2 separate regions of the Homo sapiens genome follow, and region 2 is linked to region 1. Evidence: promoter capture Hi-C in 16 types of primary human blood cells and fetal thymus (Javierre and others, 2016). All regions are on one chromosome and are shown on one strand. The core of a region is centred on a gene start or on the middle of the fragment in contact, and the rest is flanking DNA. Distances in the headings are between cores, read along the strand shown.

What was found. The method cuts DNA at HindIII sites, captures the fragments that hold promoters and counts their contacts. A CHiCAGO score of 5 or more calls a contact.
Region 2: a contact is called between a fragment that was not itself captured here and the fragment with the promoter of JMJD6 in region 1, in 1 of 17 cell types (endothelial precursors). The highest score is 5.5, in endothelial precursors.

What each region holds. Positions count from the first base shown.
Region 1 is chr17:76,722,448-76,728,491 of GRCh38, reverse strand. It overlaps JMJD6 (jumonji domain containing 6, arginine demethylase and lysine hydroxylase), which reads left to right and starts at 1,886. Exons shown (of 6, transcript NM_015167.3): 1 at 1,886-2,145; 2 at 2,637-3,025; 3 at 4,434-4,720. The coding sequence starts at 2,017. METTL23 (methyltransferase 23, arginine) reads right to left here and starts at 1,653. Exons shown (of 5, transcript NM_001080510.5): 1 at 1,314-1,653. RefSeq lists enhancers at 125-753, 1,384-2,013 and silencers at 1,273-1,722, 1,833-1,962. The HindIII fragment of the contact is 10,785 bases long and covers 1,064-6,044 here.
Region 2 is chr17:77,075,720-77,081,197 of GRCh38, reverse strand. No RefSeq gene overlaps it. Among named protein-coding and RNA genes, the nearest start is that of SNHG20, 10 kb to the left of the region's middle. The HindIII fragment of the contact is 3,023 bases long and covers 1,736-4,758 here.

The DNA.
Region 1 (6,044 bases), core at 637-3,136:
TTGCAGTGAGCTGAGATTGTGCCACTGCACTCGTCTGGGTGACAGAGCGAGACTCCATCTCCAAAAAAAAAAAAAAAAATCCGTGAAGCCAGATTGGGTGTGGTGGCCAATGCCTGTAGTCTCAGTTACTTGAAAGGCTGAGGTGGGAGGATCACTTGAGCCCAGAGGTTGAGGTTGCAGTTAGCAAAAAAAAGTGAAGCTGTTTGGAAACAATCAGAAATAGCCTCCACTCCAGTCTTTTTTTTTTTTTTTCTTCTTGACAATGTCTTGCTCTGTTGCTCATGCCTGAGTGCAGTGGCCTGATCATAGCTCACAGCAGCCTCGACCTCTCGGGCTCAAGCAATCCTCCCACCTCACCCTCCGGAGTAGCTGGGGCTACAGGCACAAGCCACGATGCCTAATTTTTCTACTTTTTGTAGAGACGTAGTATCACTATATTGCCCAGGCTGGTCTGGAACTCCTGGTCCCAAGCGATCCTCCCGCCTCCGCCTCCCATTTAACTTCTCTAAAGCTGTTTCTTTAGCATGGGACATGCCTCACAGGCTGGTGTTAAAACCAAATGAAATACTGCAAAGTGAAAGTGCTTTGAAAAACCGAAGACAGGCAGGGCATGGTGGCTCACTCCTGCAATCCCAGCACTTAGGCAGGCGGGAGGATCACTTGAATCCGGGAGTTGGAGGTTGCAGTGAGCTGTGATCGCGCCACTGCGCTCCAGCCTGGGCGCCAGAGCGAGACAGTGTCTCAAAAAAAAGAAAAGAAAAAGAATTATTATTGAGAGTTTTGTTGTAGCTGTGAGCTTAGAGGAAGAAGCGAGGTCCAACCCAAGAAACACTTTGGGCACCAAATAAAACTGGAAACCCTGATCCCAAAACTCACACAAAAGTGAGAGATAAGGATGAATCAAGAAACCCTTGGACAAGATCAAAAGAAGCATTAGAGGTCAGTCAAGAATGTCACTTTCCTGGCAGGAAAGATTCGATGTGGAGAAAGCCGGCCCGGCGCAGTGGCTCATGCCTGTAATCCTAGCACTTTGGGAGGCCGAGGCAGGAGGATCACTTAAGCTTACAGTTCGAGACCAGCCTGACCAACATAGTGACCAGGGTCACTTCTTGGCAGGGTCTCCAAAATTCTTACTGAGAGACATTTAATGCACCGAAGGGCTTCATATCCGACGTTTTTGCTCCGGGGGTCAACCTAAAGCAGGAAGCTGCGCAGCTGAGCGTCCGCACCCCCGGTCCCTCAGGAACCCAGCCAAGTCAGCCGACATCCGCTCCTGACCTCAGGCGCCTCCTGGCGGGTGCTGCTGCACGCACCTGCGGGACGTGGACCTCCAGGACAGCCCCGTCGGCCCCCGGACCCGGCTCCTCCGAGAATCGAAAGCGCTGGGCCCGGACCCCCTGTCCTCGGAAATCGTGCTCGCCCAGTAGGGCGTCGTTGGGCCCCGGGCGGGCGGGGGACCGCGGAAGGCTCCGGGCTGCCAGACTGCGCGAGCGGGAAGCCGCGGGCCACGTGGCCGTAGCACCTGACGGCAAGAAGGGGAAAGCCCAGATCTGGTGATAACCCTGCCGCGCTGCGAGCGAAGAAAGCCCGGAGCAAGGCGAAAGAGACTCACACGCGCAGAACTGGCAACGGGCGGCTGGCGCGACCGGAAGTGATGGGCACAGCGGCAGCGCGGGAGGGGAGGGGCGGGGCGGGGCGGGGCGGTGACGCAGCCGACGTGACCTTCCCAACATGGCGGAGGCCCGCCGTATGTGAAGGAGTACCCCAGGGGAGCCAAAGCCAATGGAAAACCGCGAGAGGCGTCGGGGCGGGGAAGACGGCGGCCGCTTGCCCAACCCGAGGCTCGGGAGGTGGCTGGGGAGTGAATTTTCTGGAAGGCGACTTTAAAGGCGCCGGGACTGAGCGAAGGGCGTTTGGGTACTGCCGTCGCCGCCGCCCAGGCCGGGGAGGGGTGCGTTAGTGTCAGGAAGCGGGCTGCGCCGAGGTCGTAGCGGAACCAGCTGGCGACCCCGCAGAATGAACCACAAGAGCAAGAAGCGCATCCGCGAGGCCAAGCGGAGTGCGCGGCCGGAGCTCAAGGACTCGCTGGATTGGACCCGGCACAACTACTACGAGAGCTTCTCGCTGAGCCCGGCGGCCGTGGCGGTGAGCGGGTCGGGCGGGGGTGGCCAGGCCGGGCATCGGCACCTCCAGCCGCTACGCACCTTTCTCTGGGCCCGAGGCTGCCCTCGCCCCGAGCGCCCGGGACCTCGTAGAGGCTCACCCGCACCCCGCGGAGTTTGGGGTCCCCGAGGCGCGGATTCCGGGGCGGGTCTGCTTCCTCCCGTGCTGTGGCCGCCCGTCTGCTCTGGCGGACGACGGGAGTCCCACGCCTGTGGCGCTCTCAACTAGAAGGCCCGTCGTCCCTGACTCCTTTGGGCGGCGGGTCCCCTAGGGGACCTGGCTGTCAAGGCTCATGGGGGGTGGCTCTAGGAACGACGTGGCCTCACGCACGCGCCCTGCCCCCACCCCGGAGGAGCCAGACGAGAGTCAACTTCCTTCGGTTTGTCATTACCAGTTGGCCTTGGGGACACCCTTATCTGCCACTGGACTTTTTTTTTTTTTTTAACTGGACAGGTCTTTTTTAATTCCCTCAGGATAACGTGGAAAGGGCAGATGCTTTACAGCTGTCTGTGGAAGAATTTGTGGAGCGGTATGAAAGACCTTACAAGCCCGTGGTTTTGTTGAATGCGCAAGAGGGCTGGTCTGCGCAGGAGAAATGGACTCTGGAGCGCCTAAAAAGGAAATATCGGAACCAGAAGTTCAAGTGTGGTGAGGATAACGATGGCTACTCAGTGAAGATGAAGATGAAATACTACATCGAGTACATGGAGAGCACTCGAGATGATAGTCCCCTTTACATCTTTGACAGCAGCTATGGTGAACACCCTAAAAGAAGGAAACTTTTGGAAGACTACAAGGTGCCAAAGTTTTTCACTGATGACCTTTTCCAGTATGCTGGGGAGAAGCGCAGGCCCCCTTACAGGTAAAGTATTCTGCAGCTAAGTGGTTAAAATCCTTTTCTTTTTTTTTTTTTTTTTTTTTTGAGACAGAGCGTCACTCTTGTAGCCCAGGCTGCAGTGCCGTGGTGCGATCTCGGCTCACAGCAACCTCCATCTCCCGAGTTCAAGCGCTTCTCCTGCCTCAGCCTCCTGTAACTGGGATTACAGGCATGCGCCACCACACCCAGCTAATTTTGTATTTTTAGTAGAGACGGGGTTTCACCATGTTGGTCAGGCTGGTCTCGAACTCCCGACTTCAGGTGATCTGCCCGCCTCGGCCTCCCAAAGTGCTGCGATTGCAGGTGTGAGCCACCGCGCCCGGCCTGTGGTTAAAATCTTATCTACAACAGCATTTGCTCGCTGAGTTCAGTTGCTAATCTTTTTTGGAAACAGTGAGTACTCCCTCGGCTGTACATTGAACTCATTTAGGGGGCTCCTGAGGCCTGCCTGGGCCCTACTGGGGAGACTGATTTAATTCGGGTGATGCCTGCGCATCAGAATTTCTGAAAGCTCTTCAGGTGACTTGAATGTGCAGCTATGGTTGAAGCACTGATCTCTAAGGGAGGTTTTAATAAAGTCCAGCAATAAACCACATTAGTGATTTTTCTTTTTTTTTCTTTTTTTTTTCTTCATTGAGATGGAGTCTCCCTCTGTCGTCCAAGCTGGAGTGCAGTGGCGCAATCTCAGCTCACTGCAGCCTCCGCCTCCCGGGTTCAAGCAATCCTCCTGTCTCAGCCTCCTGAGTAGCTGGGATTACAGGTGCCCACCACCACACCCGGCTAATTTTTGTATTTTCAGTAGAGATGGGGTTTCACCGTATTGGTCAGGCTGGTCTTGAACTCCTGACCTCAGGTGATGCACCCACCTCTGCCTCCCAAAGTGCTGGGATTACAGGCGTGAGCTACCGCCCCAGCTGATTTTTCTTATTTTGTTAGGAATCAGTCCATGAACAATGCACCCAGTGTTTCTGTGTACCAGAATTTATATAATCTCTGAAATAAAGATGACATATCACATAAAATTAAAACCTGGCCAGGTGCGGTGGCTCAAGCCTGTTATTCCAGCACTTTGGGAGGCCGAGGCAGGTGATCACTTGAGGCCAGGAGTTCGAGACCAGCCTAGGCAACATGGTGAAACCCTGTCTCTACTAAAAATACAAAAATTAGCCAGGCGTGGTGGTGTGCGTCGGTAATCCCAGCTACTCAGGAGGCTAAGGCAGGAGAATCACATGAACCTGGGGAAGCAGAGGTTACTGTCAGCCAAGATCACGCCACTGCATTCCAGCCTGGGTGATAGAGCAAGACTCTCAAAGAAAAACTAAAAACTTATTGTTTTGTGTGGTATGTGTGTAAGTAAATTACACTTCACATCTTGGATATCTCCATTCTGTAGGTGGTTTGTGATGGGGCCACCACGCTCCGGAACTGGGATTCACATCGACCCTCTGGGAACCAGTGCCTGGAATGCCTTAGTTCAGGGCCACAAGCGCTGGTGCCTGTTTCCTACCAGCACTCCCAGGGAACTCATCAAAGTGACCCGAGACGAAGGAGGGAACCAGCAAGACGAAGCTATTACCTGGTTTAATGTTATTTATCCCCGGACACAGCTTCCAACCTGGCCACCTGAATTCAAACCCCTGGAAATCTTACAAAAACCAGGAGAGACTGTCTTTGTACCAGGTATAGATGAACTGGAAGAAAGTACATTCTTTGCCGGGCGCGGTGGTTCATGCCTGTAATCCCAGCACTTTGGGAGGCTGAGGCGGGCAGATCACGAGGTCAGGAGATCGAGACCATCCTTGCTAACACGGTGAAACCCCGTCTCTACTAAAAATACAAAAAAATTAGCCGGGCGTGGTGGTGGGCGCCTATAGTCCCAGCCACTCGGGAGGCTGAGGCAGGAGAATCACGTGAACCCAGGTGGCGAAGGTTGCAGTGAGTCTAGATCGTGCCACTGCACTCCAGCCAGGGTGACAGAGTAAGACTCCATCTCAAAAAAAAAAAAAAGAAAGTACATTCTTTGATTTCAATATTTTGTCATTTTGGAGCAGAACTGTTAGAGAGTGAGTCCAAAAAATCCTTTGGATGCTGCCTGGTAAATGAACTGGTACTCACCTCTGACAGTAACATGTAGCTATAGTGTCACATACTTTGGGAGCTCTTGTTCACATTTTATATGGCTATAAAACCTGATAAACTGTATGCAGGCCCGGTGCGGTGGCTCACACCTGTAATATCAGCACTTTGGGAGGCCGAAGTGGGTGGATCACTTGAGGTCGGGAGTTCAAGATCAGCCTGGCCAACATGGTGAAACCCTGTCTCTACTAATAATACAAAAATTAATCAGGCGTGGTGGCGGGCGCCTGTAATCCCAGCTACTCAGGAGGCTGAGGCAGGAGAATCACTTGAATCCGGAAGAGGAGGCTGCAGTGAGCTGAGATTGTGTCACTGCACTCCAGCCTGGGTGACAGAGCAAAACTCCATTTCAAAAAAAAAAAAAAATTGTATGTAAAGATACAACTTTTCTTTGTTTGTGTATGTGTAGCGGCTTGTTTGTGTTTCTGTAAATTGGGGTTTAATTCTTTTTTTTTTTTTTTTTTTTTTTTGAGACCAAGTCTCGCTCTGTCACCCAGGCTGGAGCACAATGGCACAATCTCAGCCCACTACAACCTCCTCCTCCCAGGTTCAAGCGATTCTCTTGTCTCAGCCTCCCAAGTAGCTGGGAATACAGGCACATGCCGCCACACCCAGCTAATTTTTTGTATTTTAGTAGAGACGGGGTTTCATCATGTTGCCCAGGCTGGTCTTGAACTCTTGAGCTCAGGCAACCCACCCGTCTCAGCCTCCCAAAGTGCTAGGATTACAGGCGTGAGCCACCACCCCCGGCCAGGGTTTAATTCTGTAAATTGAATTGGAGGTCTCACTGTTACCCAGGCTGGCCTCCTTGGTTCAAACAAGCCTCCTGCCTCAGCCTCCCAAAGTGCTGGGATTGCAGGTGTGAACC
Region 2 (5,478 bases), core at 1,998-4,497, 350 kb before region 1:
GGCTTTGTGCTAGTTATTTTCCTGTGCAGTATGTCATTTAACTTCAAAGCAACCCTAGGGATGAGGTATTGTTGTGCTTATGTTTTAGTTTGTTATTTTTTATTTTTATTTTTATTTGAGACAGAGTCTTGCTCTGTCACCCAGGCTGGAGTGCAGTGGTGTGATCTCGGCTCACTGCAACCTCCGCCTCCCGCCTCCCAGGTTCAAGTGATTCTCCTGCCTCAGCCTACTCGGGAGGCGCACACTGCCACACCTGGCTAATTTTTTTTTTTTTTTTTGTATTTTAGTAAAGGAGGGGTTTCACCATGTTGGCCAGGCTGGTCTGGAACTCCTGAGCTCACACAATCCACCCACCTTGGCCTCCCAAAGTGCTAGGATTACAGGCATGAGCCACTGCGCGCACCCTGTGCTTATGTTTTTTTTTGTTTGTTTTGTTTTTGTTTTATTTTTGAGACAGAGTCTCGCTGTGTTGCCAGGCTGGAGTGCAATGGTGCGATCTCAGCTCACTGCAACCTCCGCCTCCTGGGCTCAAGCAACTCTCCTGCCTCAGCCTCCCAAGTGAATGGGATTACAGGTGCATGCCACCACGCCCAGCTAATTTTTGTGTTTTGAGTAGAGACGGGGTTTCACCATGTTGGCCAGGATGGTCTAGAACTCCTGACCTCAGGTGATCCTCCCACCTCAGCCTCCCAAAGTGCTGGGATTACAGGTGTGAGCCACTGCACCTGGCCATGTTTTAAAGGCTCAGAAAGACTAAGTGACTTGCTTGAGGCCACCCAGGAAACAAGAAATATGGTCAATATTTTAAGCTTCCAGGCCAGGCGCGGTGGCTCAGGCCTGTAATCCCAGCACTTTGGGAGGCCGAGCCGGGCAGGTCACGAGGTCAGGAGATCGAGACCATCCTGACTAACACGGTGAAACCCTGTCTCTAGTAAAAATACAAAAAATTAGCTGGGCGTGGCGGCGGGGGCCTGTAGTCCCAGCTACTCGGGAGGCTGAGGCAGGAGAATGGCGTGAACCTGGGAGGCGGAGCTTGCAGTAAGCCGAGATCGCGCCACTGCACTCCAGCCTGGGTGACAGAGCGAGACTCCATCTCAAAAAAAAAAAAGAAAAAAAAAAGATTTTAAGCTTCCAAATCCCTGATTGCTCCCTATGGTCTGCTGGAATCAATGATGTCCTCAAAGTCATCCCAGTGGCCATTTCTCCAAGCTGGCCATTCCTTTCTACCTGTAACACATTCCTCCCAACTCCCAACTGCCACCCCCTGGCTTCTGGCCCAACAACTTACTCAGGTTGTGTGTTTGTCTGTGTGTGTGTGTGTGTTTTAAGATGGGGTCTTGCTATGTTGCCCAGGCTGGTCTCAAACTCCTGAGCTCAGGCGATCCTCCTGCCTCAGCCTCCCAAGGTGCTGGGATTACAGGTTGCTCAGGGGTTTGGCTGCCAGGATATCTGGCCAATTCCAGTAATGGCCAGTCCTATCCTCCCAGACCATTTCCCTGGGGCTGCTCTTTGGGTGAGACTAGGAGGCCTGGGGAGTTTTGTGATTGCAGCTCTCCCCAGGCTGCAAACTCACCTGGGCAGCTGAAAGCAGACATCTTCGGTTATACTTTCTGTACAAAGATCCAGCTGGGAGCTTAAGTGTCTCCTTATGGTGCCTGGATTTATGCTCTTGCAAAAGGGGCTGGCGGGCACATACAGGCAGCCCCAGAGCCCACCTGCATCATGATTACAAGCTTTCAGGCTGGCAGCTGGTTCGTTACTATTAAAACTATTTATTTAGCCGGGCACTTTAAGAGGCCTCTGTGATTACTGTCACTCGGCGGGACAGCCAGGAGCCAATTTTCTGAGGATGATAGATTTCTTCTCATTTGTTGCTCTCAAGCTGTGGGTTCCTTCCGTGTTGTGGAGCAAATCACAAGATGCTATCTCCTGGGACTCAAAAGGGGGTTTCAAAGCTGCCCTTGGGCTGCCCCATCAGTCACTTCTGCAAAATAGCAGGGACGTTTCAGGAGCCCGAAGAGGCTGCAGTGACTACCCCCTAAGACACAAAGGAAGCCTTTCGAGGAGGAGGGAGAGGTGGGAAGGCTGGGGAGGAGGGTAGAGGACAGCCTGGAGTTCCTGCTTGGATGTCCTCAGAGCTGTGGTTCTCAACGTTGTTTGCACATCAGAATCATCTGGGAGCTTGAAAATAACTGAAGCCAGCTGGGTGTGGTGGCTGACACCTGTAATCTCAGCAGTTTGGGAGGATCACTTGAAGTCAGGAGTTCGAGACCAGCCTGGCCAACATAGTGAAACCCTGTCTCTACTAAAAATACAAAAATTAGCTGGCCATGGTGGCAGGCACCTGTAATCCTAGCTACTCAGGAGGCTAAGGCAGGAGAATCGCTTGAATCCAGGAGGTGGAGGTTGCAGTGAGCCGGAATTGTGCCACTGCACTCCAGCTTGGGTAACGGAGTGAGACTCTGTCTCAAGGAAAAAAAAAAAAAAAAAAAGATACCGAAGCCGGGTACCAAGTACTGACATTCTGATTTTATGGGTGTGGGTGTGGCTTGGGGAGCAGGATGTTTCGAAGCTCCCTGGGTGATTCCAGTGTGCTAGATTAGAGGTGCCCTACATGGTCCTGCAGATGTGTGAACAGACTGGGATAGTCCCCGGTCAGGAGAAATTGTCCAAGACTTGGAGATGGACAAGAGGGATTCTGGGCATGCTTCCCATGGGGTTCAGGGCCGGGTTTCAGGGATTGCCTGTTTACACAGGACTCTGTTTGCTGTCTTTCTGTTGACCAGGCTGTTTTATTTATTTATTTATTTATTTAGAGATGGAGTCTCGCTCTGTCGCCCAGGCTGGAGTGCATTGGCACCATCTCGGCTCACTGCAACCTCCATTTCCTGGGTTCAAGAGAGTCTCCTGCCTCAGCCTCCCGAGTAGCTGGGATTACAGGCATGTGCCACCACGCCCGGCTAATTTTTGTATCTTTAGTAGAGACGGGGTTTCGCCATTTTGGCCAGGCTGGTCTCAAACTCCTGACTTCAGGTGATCTGCCTGCCTTGGCCTCCCATAGTGTTAGAATTACAGGCATGAGCCACTGCACCCAGCCTGACCAGGCTTTTTTAATTCTCTGATAGGGGAGACATTAAATGGTAGAAAATGGAAATAATGATTGTCCATAACAATGTAAATGGATTTTGTCCCACAGAGATACAGTTGGTGTCCGTCCCATAGAAAAGATGACTGTAAACATTACATTTTATTGCCCCGTAGGACACTGACCCACTTGGTATCTATTAGCAAATCCATCCTAGCATTCCTAACTGCATCTGTATATGGCTGATTTTCAAATTCTGTTTTCAACTGCTCTCCACATCTCATTGGTTCCCTCATTAATTCACAAGTTGAATGAAATTATTTACACGTTTATTTTATAGTTGAAAGCCATGTTTGCAACTTTTTGAAAAGTACCATTTGGCTTCCCTCCAGGGAGAGCCATGCCCCTTCCTCCTTAACCCTCCGTGCCCGGTACCCCACCTGGCTGTGGCTCTATCACACAGTACTGTCTCCCCAGCTACGCTAGGGTCCTGGGAACCTGCACTTCATCCTGCTGGTTAGGTCTTGTGACGTCTGTATTCACTGCACCTGGTCCAGGGTCAGGGAAAGAGGAGGTGCTCAATAAATGTTTCTGGAGAGCCTCGCCCCATGGGTCACCAGCATGGATTACCCAGGTCACTTCATCAGCACCCAATTCACTGTGGGTTTTTTTTATTTTTTGAGACAGAGTCTCACTCTGTCACCCAGGCTGGAGTGCAGTGGCTCAATCTCAGCTCACTGCAAGTTCCGCCTCCCGGGTTCAAATGATTCTCCTGCCTCAACCTCCTGAGTAGCTGGGACTACAGGCACCTGCCATCACGCCCAGCTAATTTTTGTATTTTTGTAGAGACAGGGTTTCACCATGTTGGCCAGGCTGGTCTTGAACTCCTGACCACAGGTGACCCGCCTGCCTCAGCCTCCCAAAGTGCTGGGATCACAATCATGAGCCACCGTGCCCCGCCCAAATGGTAGTTTTTATACCTTTACACATGTAAGCAAAGATACTTGCCCAGAAAAATTCGATTGTACCTGGAGCGTCACTCAGAAGGACAATATATATAGGGATTTGAACCCAGAAGACATGTCATCAAGTACGATATTTAGGGCATGTGGTTCTTCAAAGACTCTCTACATCTACTGTTTCTTAGCTTCTTGGATGCTCAGTGATGCTTGCAAAGAAAAATCTCCATCCCAGCACATTCTACAACATGTCAGCGTCACTGTGCCATTCATTACAGTTCTTTTCTTCTCGCATCTTTCTTTAAAAACAGCAGCTACAGAAGGAGTCGCATGCCTGTGTTTTATAACTCCTTTCTCTCTCCTGTTGACTTCCTGGCAAGTGTTTGATTTCATTATGACATGGAGAATCAACTTTGGGCCGCGGGAGGCTCATCGAGCTGCTGTAATGGCTGGGCGTTTATTCATCATCCCCTCCCATGCTGCTTCTAGCCTTGACAGTCAGCACAACAAATACTTAATGGCTCCCGACTTCCGTGAGGCTTCATATTTCACACTCGATGGGCTATGGTCTGTAGTGGGTCTGTTCCTCCCTGTGTTTGCAGAAAAACCGGCAGAGGCATAATCGTAAAGTTTTATTCTCCTGTCTTCTTCTGCTCATTTGTAAGGGCTTCCAGACACACATAACTTACTGATAGTCGGACTCTGAAAGAAGCTTCTCCAAGGATGCCTGCTGGGTGATGGAAATGAGGCTCTTCAGAATTGCTCAACTTTCTATCACTATGCAGTTATCGATGGTGGCATTCCTGAAGAATATATTGCTCTTGCAAGCACTTGCTGGGGCTTTCCAGGGTCTTTCGAATCCATTTTGATTTGTTTACAGTTGCTGGCCTGTTTGGTGACTTGGAGATGGTGATATGTTGGGATGATGCCCAGGATGTCCAGGAATAGACTTTGCGGGTAGAGAATGACAGGAGAATCTCTCTGCCTTCTTTTTCCCACTGTTTTCTTTTCTTTTCTTCTTCTTTTTTTTTTTTTTTTTTTTGAGAGGGAGTCTCGCTCTGTCGCCAGGATGGAGTGTAGTGGTGCAATCTCAGCTCACTGCAACCTACGACTCCTGGGTTCAAGCGATTCTCCTGCCTCAGCCTCCCGAGGAGCTGGGATTACAGGCATGCACCACCATGCCCGGCTAATTTTTTTGTATTTTTAGTAGAGACTAGGTTTCACCATGTTGGCCAGGATGGTCTCGATTTCCTGACCTTGTGATCCACCCGCCTCAGCCTCCCAAAGTGCTGGGATTACAGGCGTGAGCCACTGTGCCCGGCCCCTTTTTTTTTTCCCCAAGATGGAGTCTCACTGTTGCCCAGGCTGGAATGCAGTGGTGCAATCTCGGCTCACTGCAAGCTCCGCCTCCTGGGTTCAAGAGATTCTCCTGCC